Regions from separate parts of the Homo sapiens genome. Here region 1 is linked to region 2. Evidence: promoter capture Hi-C in 16 types of primary human blood cells and fetal thymus (Javierre and others, 2016). All regions are on one chromosome and are shown on one strand. The core of a region is centred on a gene start or on the middle of the fragment in contact, and the rest is flanking DNA. Distances in the headings are between cores, read along the strand shown.

What was found. Contacts are between HindIII fragments. The CHiCAGO score rates a contact against its expected background, and 5 or more counts as called.
Region 1: a fragment that was not itself captured here is called in contact with the fragment with the promoter of LIN28B in region 2 in 1 of 17 cell types (megakaryocytes); the score reaches 7.6 in megakaryocytes.

What each region holds. Positions count from the first base shown.
Region 1 is chr6:105,055,634-105,062,017 of GRCh38, reverse strand. The region is part of intron 3 of LIN28B (lin-28 RNA binding posttranscriptional regulator B); the gene reads right to left. Among named protein-coding and RNA genes, the nearest start is that of POPDC1, 78 kb to the left of the region's middle. The HindIII fragment of the contact is 858 bases long and covers 2,673-3,530 here.
Region 2 is chr6:104,954,329-104,961,196 of GRCh38, reverse strand. It overlaps LIN28B (lin-28 RNA binding posttranscriptional regulator B), which reads right to left and starts at 4,090. Exons shown (of 4, transcript NM_001004317.4): 1 at 3,937-4,090; 2 at 2,911-3,098. The coding sequence starts at 3,946. RefSeq lists enhancers at 3,202-4,139, 4,140-5,077. The HindIII fragment of the contact is 2,336 bases long and covers 3,717-6,052 here.

The DNA of each region.
Region 1 (6,384 bases), core at 1,852-4,351, 100 kb before region 2:
ACACCGAAGTAGAAAAGTAGAGGACATGTTTAGGAAGGCAAGTTGGCTGGCTTGGAAAAGAAAATGGAAACGAAGACTACTGAGCAGAATATTAAATATATTTTACAATGTAATATTTTTAAAACTTTCATCTTACAGTAGAAAAAAAAACCCCTAAGTTTCAAAGTTTATGTACACATTGTTCATGACCTCAAATCTAATAAAAAAGGGAATCCAGGATTTCAGCCTGTAACTCAGATGGTGGTCCATGATAAAACCACCTAATCTCTCTGGGTTTCCTCATCTATAAGTAAGCTTCATACTTCAAGAATTCATTTTTGAAGATGAACATAATTTCCACTTACTTCATTTGGTTGCTGTTGGTCTTAAATGAGATACATATTTTAAAATGTTTTGTTAATTATAAACCTCCATATATAAATGGTAGGTGAAATTTCTCCACTAGTGTTAAGACAATTCATGGTAGATGAATTGAAGCCCTCATGAACTGGGGGGTGGGGGTGGGGGGAGCGAGAGCAAAAATAAATAGCAGAAGAAGCTTAAAATATTTTTCTCTTTACAAGAATGCTAAAGAGATCAAACTAAATAGCCCAATAATGATACAATATATATATCTTATGAATGCTCTATAATTAATTTCTATTTTCCATTCCTTTTATACTGGAATTTTCTTGACCATCTCCTACTGTTCCATTTTGATTAGATATTAGTAAATTAATTTGCTTTGTTGCAGATGCCATGCATTTCTTCCTGTATGTAGTTCACTGTCTAAATATTTAATATTTTTCTGCTTCACCCCTTGGAGTCCCTAAAAATCAAATTGCAGGGTAACTTAGTTCATATAAATTCTATCAGAAAATTTGCAGATAAAGGAAATGATAAAGTAGACTATCTTTGTGTAGTACAGTTTTAAGTACTGGGAATTTGCTGACTATTCCTATATTCTAGGGACTGTTCTTTCATCTGGTTTTCAGAATATTAAAGTGGTTTTCTTTCTACCTTACTGATATAATTTTCCTATCTTGTTCTCAGTACCTTTCTAGAGTCACCAAGATCTATACTTATATTTGTCTACCAACTCCCTTTTGAAAAATTAATCAACTTCCTATATACAAACTACTTTCTTTACTCTGATCACTCACAAATTATTCCCACTTTTATGTTTTCTTGTAATCTCAAACTCAACTCATCTCTTCAAGGTCATTTTGACCCAACCCTAGTTTCCAAATCTCTTCCAATAAGTTCTACATTTATCATTGCATTCACAGTGTTTACTGGTATAATACCTGGTTGGCTCAAAGAAATGGAAAAAGCACTATTGAAAAAGTCACTATATTTTGGGCTTTAAAACATCATGCTTACTGGAAGTCAACTCTCCTAAACCCATGAAGTCATCTCAGCTTCCTGTCTATTTGGGAGTAGATTCCTGATCTCTAGCCTTCATGCCATGTCACAGATCGGTCACTGTAACTGATACTCCAGGTGCATCTATCAGTCTGCTCATACCACTCAGTCACCAACCACTGTGACCCTATTTATATTACTGTGGATAATATAAATGAAACGAACAAACAAAAAATTAATTATAGGTCAAGCACAGTGGCTCACTCCTATAATCTCAACAACTTTGGGAGGCAGAGGTGGGCAGATCGCTTGAGCCCAGTAGGTTGAGGCTGCAGTGAGCCATGATCACACCACTGCACTCCAGCCTGGGCAAAAAGGCGAGACCCTATCTCAACAAAGAAACAAACAAACAAAAAAATGAATTAGCAAATCAGTCACCTTCACCTTGTATTATTAAAAAACAGAGTAAAAGGCTGGGCACGGTGGCTCACGCCTGTAATCCCAGCACTTTGGGAGGCCAAGGCAGGCGGATCACCTGAGGTTGGGAGTTCAAGACCAGCCTGACCAACATGGAGAAGCCCTGTCTCTACTAAAAATACAAAATTAGCCAGCCATGGTGGTGCATGTCTGTAATCTCAGCTACTCGGGAGGCTGAGGCAGGAGAATCGCTTGAACCTGGGAGGCGGAGGTTGTGGTGAGTTGAGATTGCACCATTGCACTCCAGCCTGGGCAACAAGAGCCAAACTCCATCTTAAAAAAAAAAAAATACAGTAACATGAGAATAAAGAAAATGAAAAGGGAAAATATTGTAAGATGCTGGAATGTAAGGATGAAAAAAGAATATTTAGTACTAAAGGGCAGCATCATTAAAGTGGAAGAAATGCAAAATGACTAGTGTCAAATGCAATAAAAACATGAATTCCTATTTGCCATACTTTTTGGGCCAAATAGTATTGTCATACATTTTAGTAATATTTCAGAGTAACGGGCACCCACTGAGCTATAATGTAACTCTATGGCAGAAGCTTCATCTTTTGGGCAAAACTACTGCACAGTTCAATTTCCCTTTATCTAATCAATTTTTTGTCAAATCTTACTAAGCTTCACTTACCACTATAATGATTTTTCAATAAAATAGTAATGGAAAAACTACAAGTTAACCACATGTGGATGTGCATCTCTGGAGACACAGCGAGTCTGAAACTTGAAGAGATGCTAAGGTTGAAGTCACAGACTTGGGAGACATCACTGAAAGAACAGACAGTAGCTAAAGCTCAGAGGTCACCTAGCAAAATGTGAAGAGTGAAACAAGAACTGCAGCCAAAGCTTTCAGGAAATCCACTATTTAATAACTTTCAGGTGGAGGAACCAGTTAGGCTTTCTAAGAAGGAACAGCCAGAAAAGTAGAAGGAAGACAAGAAAAGAGATACTTCTCCCTAGTTTAAAAAAAAAAATACATATATATATACACACACACACACAACATACAGTTTCGCATTCAAGAAAGGGGCTAATAGATCAAACAAGATGAGGTATTAAAATAGACTGCTGGATTTAGCAAGTAGGAGATAGTAAGAGGCCACAGATAGAACATAAAACGAATACAAAAGAATTAAGGAACTAAAATTAAACCATAGCGCCAGTATCAAACTTCCTCAAAGTCTGACAAGCATATCTTAGGAAACAGATCTTCCTAGGGGACTCATTTCCTCAGAAAAGCAGCCCTTTCCAAAGCCATGTACTATATATTCTTTTGAAAATCACCAGAGTCCAATAGAAAAACAGACAATGGACGTGAACAGGTAATTCACAAAAAGAGAAAGAAAAATGGCACAAATACCTTTAAAATACCCACAGGAGCAAAAGTGCAAATTTTAAAAAGCAACAACCATACATTAAAATGACATTATATATAACATAATTACATTACATACAAAAATACACTTCATTTCCTTCAAAGTAGCATATAAAATATTCTGAACAACCATACCACTGAAAAACAACTAAAAATGCTGGAAAAATATTCTAAAGCATCCTTTGAACTGCTTTGCTGATGGCACTGAAAAGTCAGTGATGCTTAGAAGCCAAAAACAAAGTGAAAGCAGAAAACTAGGGAGGTCAGTGGAGCACTGAAATAGCCTCTCATTCTGGAGACATCTACAGAACACTAGCAACAATCTGAAGCTTTCATCTTGTAAACTGGTTGATGCAGCAGAGGAGTTAGAAAACAAAGCCTAAGATCTGTCCAGAATTAGGAGTCTAACAGGAGATCCTGTCCCACAGAAAGCTGGAAACCCTGCCCAAAACTATACTCAGAATGTAAAGACCAATGAAAAGTAGTTACCTCAAAGAAGGGAAAAGGCAAGATAACTTTTCTGCTCCCAACTATGTGGTGGGAGGAAGAGAAAACGATCTCCCCCTTGAGAACTGATATCACAAGCCAGATGCTATATGGTGTTGCAGCTCATGTGGGGCTACAACTCAAGCTGAGAATTTCTTTTTAAATGGTTCCCAGTTGGTACAAGTACCTCTAGGAACATGATAAAATAAACACATACCCTCCTCAGAGAAAATGCACCGTCAAGCCAGGAGTCAAAAAATTCCTGTAGACAAAAGTTCAAGAAATATGAATTTCTGGTTAAAAAAATCATAAAAGACAAAATAATTAAATAAATAAGGGACCATGAGCTGCATACAGCCAGTAGAATTAGATCCAAAACGTTCAGATATTGAATTGCTCAGATTCAGACTATAAAATAAGTATGTTTTAACTTGTTTAAAGCAACACTTCTTAACACTACTAGGTCAATATTTCCTTTTTATACTAAGTATTTTTGTAATGCCCCTATTCTTATACTGAAATAAACTTAAAGTAATGTAATCTCTATATACATATAATTTAAACTATCTATATTCCTTAACCATAATATATAGAAAAAAGTAATTTATAGTAAACTAATACATACTTCAATTTTAAAATATAGTGGTAAAACTACACAATAATACAATAAAATATCAATGCTTGTACTTGTCTATGATAAATAAATTGGCTTTAAGCCATTCCATACAAGTAAAAGAAATGAAAGAAGAGGTACACGGGGATACTAAGATAAAAATTATACTGAGTAATATACATATACAGAAAGAGGAAGAAAAATCACCTTGATTGAAGCAGCATAACATGTCAAGGCAAATTAAACACTCAACACTGCAAAAATGAGAAATACAACACTCTTCAAATGAGCTGCATGTTAGGTATAAGTGTAGGAGCCAAATAATTTCCTATGCTGTCAGATGGCAGATGATAGTGATGATGTGTAGCAGAAAACATGCCACATATATTTTAATTCAACCTCATGCTGAGACATAAATTCAGTGTCACGTATATAAAAAGACCTTAGAGACCAGATCCTTTAATAGGTGATGGGGAATAGCTGATGGATTGGAAAACAAAAACTAATACAAGAGGTTATAAAGAAATTATCTCTGGAAATGGTACCACAGTTAGGCTGTAAAACAACATGCAACCCCAAAATAAATTTCTACATGTAATTTTTATAGTATAGATATTTTATCTCTGCATTACAAAAAAAGTTATGAATACTGTATATAGGTTCAGTGGGCTTCTGAATATGATAGACTTATTAGACTTACTCTTCTGTGGTCTACAGCTATAACAATGGGAAAGATATAAGACGCAACTGTTTATTGTCACTGGATAGGACAATAAGTAGTAAAAAACTGTAGCGCTTGATAGAATGGAAACACTCAAAGTAAGCCCAGATGTTTGCCCCAGCTTTCTGCCTGGGTAGACTTTTGGGACTAAGGGGCAAGAAGACAATGAAACACAAGCACAGCAGGATCTCAGTGAGCCATAAAGGCATAAATTTCAGCTCAGAGTTTCTAAAGCAGTTGGAATTCTTGGGACAGGATACTGGAGAGAAGAGATCTGTGCAAATCCTGTACCTTTCCCTCCTTATTCGTAATTAAGGGCCAGGTTGCATGTGTGCAGCACAGGTTGAGACCCTTCAAAACACAGCAGCAGACTTTGTTGTTTGGCAGAGAGATAAGCAAAAATATCCAAGGCCACAAAATGCTGGGAGATACTGGAGTTCTGGCCTGGCCAGAAGTCAAGAAACCACAATGGATTTCAAATCGAGAAACACAGGCATTTCACTTGAGATCCTAGTAAACTCATGCCTTAGGAATAAGGATCATACTCTATGTACCCTAGGACTGCATCCTAGGACTAAGCAAAACATGAAAATAGATCTACCATAATCTAAAATAAAAACAAAATTGGCAAAAGCAAAAACTGTCTACCAGAACAAAAGTCAACATCTTGTAGAGAAAACAAATGACCCGGACTCCCTACAATCTATCAGCCCAATATTCTACATACAATAAAAAAATTACTACGCATGAAAAGAAGCAGGAAAAAGTGACCCATATTTAAGGAAAAAAGTAGTCAAGATCTTAAAAAGACCCAAATGTTGGAAATAGCAGGAAATAACTCAAAATCGCTATCATAAATATGTTCAACAACTTAAAAGAAAAGATGGACATAATGAATGAACAAATGAGGAATAGTGGTAGAAAAAAATAAAAACAGAGGCTGGGCACAGTGGCTCATGCTTGTAATCCCAGCACCTTGGGAGGCCAAGGTGGAAGGACTGCTTGAGCCCAGGAGTTCAGTCCAGCCTGGGCAACATGGCAAAATCCAGTCTCTACCCAAAAAAAAAAAAAAAAAAAAAGCCAGGCATGGTGGCGTGCACATACTCAGGAGGCTGAGATGGGAGGACTGCTTGAACCTGGGAGGCTGAGGCTGCAGTGAGCCATGATCATGCCACTGCACTCCGGCCTGGGCTGGAAGGAAGACCCTGTCTGAAGGGTGGAGGGAAGGAAGAAAGACAGACTATTAAAACAACAACAACAACCAGGAATATTAGAGCTGAAAACTACAATATCTAAAATGAAAATATTCATGGATTGAATAACAGTAACTTAGAAACTGAAGAAAAATTTAGCGAACTTAAAAAG
Region 2 (6,868 bases), core at 2,841-5,340:
TTTAAAAATAAAATATTCATTATTGAACTATATCAATGTTTCACAATTAACATGGGTCAGAATATATATTTTCACATCATAAAAATATGATTATTTAAATTACAAATTAACATTAGAAAATCAAATGAAGACTGTCATTTTAAACCATCAATGGTTACATACCATCCTCAAATAGCAGAATCTCACAGCATTTATCAACATGTCTAAAGAGAGACTAAAGAGAGACAAAGTACAGCACCTAGGCATGTGTTTCTTTTTGAGGATTTGGTGACATCACAGGAACTACAAGAAAGTTTGATGGTATTACTGCCAATAAATTTTAAGTAGAGTTATGTAACTATAAATATACATAACTACAAATACACAGCTCAATTTTAAAACACACACATATATATATTCTCTTTATTTTGAAGCAACTGAATATGTTTTGATATGCTGTTACATGCAATCAATATTTTTAAGAGAAAAAGTATCCTAGGTTCCTCAGCATAAATTTTTATGTATTTATTAAGGACACAAATAATTTGTTTTTTATTTCTCCAAATATACATTATTAAAAATGTTTCAGAATACTTCAAAAAAAAAATCCAGTGACACATGTACTTCCAAACACTTCAAAAAAAACTATGTCATATATTTTAAAAATTTTGAGTAGACATAGGTCCAGTTGAACATTTAAAATTCCTAATCACCTATGATACATATCCTTTCACAACAAAATAGTACATAGACATAAAACCTGGTATGTTTTCAAAAATGCTTATAAAACTAAAAAGGCCTCTAAAATAATAATAAAAATGTTTTTTAAAATTCTATGAAATCGTCTTGAATTGCAACCTTATTCCATAAGTGATGCACACATAATACCTGTATCATTTACAACCATCTGTTACTTGTAGTTGCTTAGCTAACATCAGTAGGATTCCTGCCTTCTTCAAAACAATTATTCATACAATTTATATACAATTTATGTATATTACAATATAAGAAACCTCTTTAACTAGGCATCATTTAATACTGTCCTTTTAATATATACATGAACTGTATGTATATACTACTGTATGTAACTGAATATTAAGTCAACTATTTAAAAATCAATGTTTATAGTATAGAAACAGCTATATATTTAAAAAACTTCAGCAGCTACATGTTTTAATTCAGTGAATAGAGGAATGTTTATCAATATATAATCATTAAATAGTATAAACACAAATGTCTTGTTGTTCTAAACATTAACATTGGTTAATAAAATATCTTAACATTTGATGAATATTTTAGAAGGTAAACATAGAAAATCAAATTATAAAAAGGCGTGACCAGACAAAGAAGGGTTATTTTTTTCATTCATCTATAAAACAAATTTATGAGATCATAAAAAACAATTTAACAACCTAAAGAAGGTTCAAAGGTGGAAGAAAGAGCCTGAGAGAAAATGGATTTGTCTATGATTTTTGTCATCCAGTCTTAGAGGGGAAAAAACAGAAAATGTAGCTTCATTTTGCACTATAAAATAGGAAGCATAAAATCCAGTAGTCTGTATGTGGACTTGTATTTGTGTACTTAAACCCTGTTTCAATTCACAGATTATGCTGATCCTTCCACATATAAACAGCCAATAATGATGGCCAGGCCTTCAGGAAAGGAAAACACACACCACACAGCAAGGTCAGGAAGCTACCAAGCACCACAGGACAACAGATCAAAACAGAATGGTTTCATATGTTTCTATTGTTTATATATTTAATTTGAAGATGATATTCCTTAGGGAAGGGGGTATAAATATTACTAGGAACATGCAACACAGTATCAAATATATACTTTTCAAGCAAATATACCAAATATTTCACCCATGTATCTGTCAGTCAATCTGTAGTATTAACAGCCTTTCATTCAATTCTTTTTAACTTAGATTATCATGCCAAAATAAACCTCTTTAGTCGTAAACCTCTTTATTTCTAACTACAGAAAATTTATATTTACCTTTTTTTGAGGAAACAACCGGCTTCCATAAAAGTATCTTTTTTACTATAAAGGGATTAAGCAGTAGAGAGGAGTAAAGGCAGAAGTATTAATTCATTATTTCCTGGGTAAAATTTTGAAAATGGGAAGCAATGAAATTCTGTTTGGTATTAAAACATCTTTAAAAATTACAACACAATACGAGCAAAGGTGGAAATTTACCCCAAGTAGCAGACCAGCACATTTTAAACACACAAGCAAGAGCCGCCTCTGGCCACATGTTTTTTTGAGTTCAGTCTCTTAAAGAGACAGTATACGTAGACCAATGACTACACGGAGCACATTTCTAAAATGTTTATCAAGCATCCCTCTATTGCACGCATTTCTTTACAACCACATTAGGCCAACAGTGTTCTATTTTATTTTACTATGAAGTCAAATTATTTTGATCTGAATCTACAAAATGATTACAGGACAGGCAGCGATGAAATAATAAAGGGAGCTACTGTGACTAGAGGTGTCTAAAATAAGGCAATCTATACATTTCTTTCCACAGCAAACTGTTTCGCTTTGTTTTTTCAACCTTAAAATGATCATGTTTCTTCATTTTTCTACCCATTCACCAGATACAGGCGACAAAGTATATTGTATAGGTAATACCGGAAACAACAAGAACACTATTTCGCTGTAGAATGAAGCAGGGGGAAATGCTAATAACGTCAACCTTAATATATATAGTGAAATTTCAAATATTTTCTTTTCTCTTTAGACAGAAAACCCAGGAAAAGGCCCATACACGTACCCTAAACGTTGGACTACCTAGTGATTTCAGGGAAGATTTTGTCTTTCAATATACCGAAGGACATCTTATCGTACGTCTATTGGCATAACTACCGATCAGCTCCTCCACATGGAAAAAGATGAAGAGGGGGACAAAAAAGTTTGGCTTACTTGGTGTACAAATACATCGACTGGAATATCCAAGGGGCTTCCCTCTCGGTTTATCATGGAGATGAATCCAAATCCCATGCGCACATTGAACCACTTACAGTGGCCAGTTCCGCGCAAAACCTGGGATTCCTCCTCTGCCGGCTCCGGCAGCTTCCCGGGCTCTTCTCCACCACCTTTGCTAGCCCCGCCTGAGAAGGAACAGGACAAAAAAGTCAGTCTGTATTCCCATTCAATGTGCATTCAAAGATTAAAAAAAAAAAATTGCCTGCCTGGGGTTGGGGGGGAAGGGTAACAGAAAAAAAAAATTTTTTTTAATGGTTTGATTTCTTTTCTCCACAGAAAATACTTAAAATGAAAAGGGTTAAAAGGAAAGCGGGGGAGGGGGAAGCCACACTGTTCTATCGATCACACCAACTTCCACGTTTCTATACATACGTGTACTTATTCATTTAACTCCATTTTTCAGCCACATTTTACATTACAGCATGCGATACTTTACTTGTATATTGCTGATTTAATACTGATCCCATTGACAAAGAGAAATTTTCAGCGAAACTATTCTCTCCGGCGGGCACGAGGAGGAAAGAGAAATCGTGAAGATGGTTTAGAGCTACTAGTTAAGGCACATGGGGCAGCACTGAATCCAGCGTTATTTGCAATGTGCATTCCCCTCCCCCCCATAACTTTCAATTAAAGTTGGGGTGGAATGGGGGAGGGGGCAGGTGTATAAAAGTTTTCTTGGAATCACTAACTGAAACTGCGCTTAATCACACTCACACAATTCAAACAATAGCCCCCTGAAAGCTTTTCAAGTTGTGAATCAGTGTGGGCGGTACAAAACATTTTTGGAGATCTATAACAATAGGTTTGCAGAAAGCCCCACTGCGTGATGGGGGGTTGGGAGGTAATGCCCAGTATTGGGGTAAAAGGGGAAGGGGGGGACGGTCTAAGAAGGGTGGGAGAGGGGGAGGGGGAGGAGAAAAGAAGAAAGAAATTCACAGTAAAACAATAGAAAAGAAAATTAACCTTCGGCCATGTTGCCCCACGGGCCCTCAGCTCCAAACTCGTGAGATGAAAACTTTCCCTTTGGAACGGAGTGATCTTCTGCATCAATCTAACATCTTGATTTTGTGCGATCACAAATTTAGCTCGCATGGTCTAATGTGCTTTCCTTCTTTTGATTTTTTTCTCTCCTCTCTCCAGTTTCTGGCCCCCTGAGCACACGTGACTTTGTCAATTACATGCTTTCTTGCTACTAATTTCACCTCGTATCCTTAAGGGGCTGGCAAGAGGAAGAGATAACCAATCGCCATTTCATCTATGCTGACATCAAAATAATTTATGAATGAACACGAAAAACTCAAACATGTTATCTTAAAGACAATTTGGAACGCTTCTTTAGGATAAATCAGAATGCTGATTTCGTGCTTCTACTTAAACACAATGGAGGGACCTTGTGAATCATAGATTTAGAAAAAAAGGCAGTCATATATGTGCACACGCGTGCCTTACACACAAGCCTGACTAAAATCATGGGAGGGGGTCGTTTAAATAAAACAACCGATGTTAACGCTTTTTTTCCCCTTAAGAATTCAGCTATTCCATGGCAGTAAACCTGCTTGGAACGCTAATTTCATATTTAATTCAATTCTTAGAGGAAAATATATAATTTATAAAAGATCTAATTAAACCTAATTACATCCCCATGAAACTTTAGATAATGAAAACATACACCTAGGAAAAGGCAGAGGCACATAAATTACCTGATTATGCCCGAAATTTTTTCAAATTTAAAATAAAATCCTACTAGAAAAATCGTTTTCACCTTCATATAGTCAAATTGTGTTTAGGTAAACCATTTTGGAAAATTTTAGAGGGGGTTGGTAAGGAATTGTACTTCACAGGTTTCTCTGCCATCTCTTTCCGGGGGAGGAGATGTGATTAATGACTTCCTAAATAACAGCCCAGTTTTCCAGCCTAACATAGAGTGAACCTCAATCAGTGGCGATTGTTCCCCAAGAGCTGGAGGACATAGGGCAGGAGGGGGAGGGGATCGCCAGGCAGGGGAGGTGAAGAGGAGCCGCCAGGATAGGCGGCAGCAGAGTCAAAGAAAGAGGTGGGAGAGAAAAAAAGCCGGCGCGGGCAGGGGGTGGGGTGGAGAAAGAAGGACAAGTGGGAGAAAAAAGGTAAATTCATATCATATTGACTTGTACCCTGACATTTTAAAAGTCCACTACCAATGGCTAGAAGAGTTGAATAAACGAAAATGTAACAACGGATGAAGCTCCTACTGTCCTTCCTCAACTGACCCCCAGTTTCAAAATGCCTACCCCCTTTACCTTTCAAACTGGTTCAAACGATTGATTACAAGATGCTGGCAACAGTATTTCTGCCCTTATCGAATACTATAATAAATATTATAGATTAACTAAAAAGACTTTATTTCCTTTAAAATATAAAATATCGCTATTTTAAAACCTTAAAATGCACCACCAGACTTGCCTACCCCACCCCCCATTTTCTTAAACAAGCAGTTTACCAAGAAACTAACTGTTCAGATACCACTTCCTTCGACAAAGCTACCGAGTTGACCCTCCCCCACCATGCCAGCAATCCCCCTCCCAGTCTCTTCAAACACATCCACACTCCAGCACTGTTTCACACAAGCTAAAATGTAGGGATTATGAATCGAAGAGCTATGGAAAAAGCTGTATACACCTATTTATACTCCCTCCCCATATTAAACAACTAAATATAAATTTAATTGGCTCAGATTGGAAAATGGATGTATAAAAAATAGAAGTTATTTTCAGCTGTTTTTGATAAAAGGTTTAATGAAAACTAATCAATTTGGAAAGATTTTTTTTTTTGTCTGTTATTCCTTTTGTTATTTCTCAGGAAAAAGGGCTACTTTCTCATTTTATTTATTTTGGGAGGAATAATCCTGTGCCAGCTGTTAGGGAGAAAAGAAAAGGTGCAAAAATCCAATGACTTTGAAAGTTTAACAAAAGCTCAAAGCTCTGAAAAAATTATTTACTAACAAAACATTTACTAGGCATTATTTTGATGGTAGAAATTACTTCTATTATACTGATTACACTGACAAGAAAGTAATCTCAATGATGGCATTACAGGCTAAGCTTGTGACATAATATGAAATCGAGAAAGTAATTTATATTTTTTCATATTTTAATAATCACTTTAAAAAATCAACATCTGGTATAAGAGGAAAAAAATCTCAGAAAGTATTCATGTAAATTGAGGTGAAATGCTATTACTTACATAAAAGTAATGATCACAAAATTCACAGGCCAGTATAGTTTAGCTTTGTAAAATATTCATTTAAGTTTGCTTTTAATTAGAAAACAGTTTAATCATTATAAAACCAGAAGCATAATAATGTAGGTAGATTCAGAATCTGTTTATTGTTAAATTTGATGAAATTCAAATTTATGAACATGTGGGTGAAAAGTGGAATACCATAACTGAACTACACTGTACAGTATAGTTATGAGATTCACAGTCTTGCCTGATTGGGGGCCTCCAGTATTAGTGGAATTAAGGTAAGGTTCACTGGAGTGGTCACTGGTGTCAGAGGTTATCGACTCATTCATTTCCTGAGAGGGACATCAGCCTTTCAAGTTGTGTAGAAGGCTTTTTCCAACTGGTAACCCTGAAAAATCCTCTAAAATTCGTTCATGAAGAATTTAAGACAAATGCATTTACATACCTTGGGGGAGGGTAAAAGAAAGGGGAAGAGAAGAGGCGAGGGAAGGGTAGAGGGAAAAGGAAGAAGAAAGCAAGGAAGTTGGAAAGGGAGAGAAGTAAAGGAAGGAGACACATTGAGAAACACAAAATAATCACTCACCAATTTAAGAATATGGCACTGTTTTTTCTGTGCCTTCCCCCAAAACTTTTGAGCCTAAAATCCTTTTATAATATAAATTGCCCATAAGCT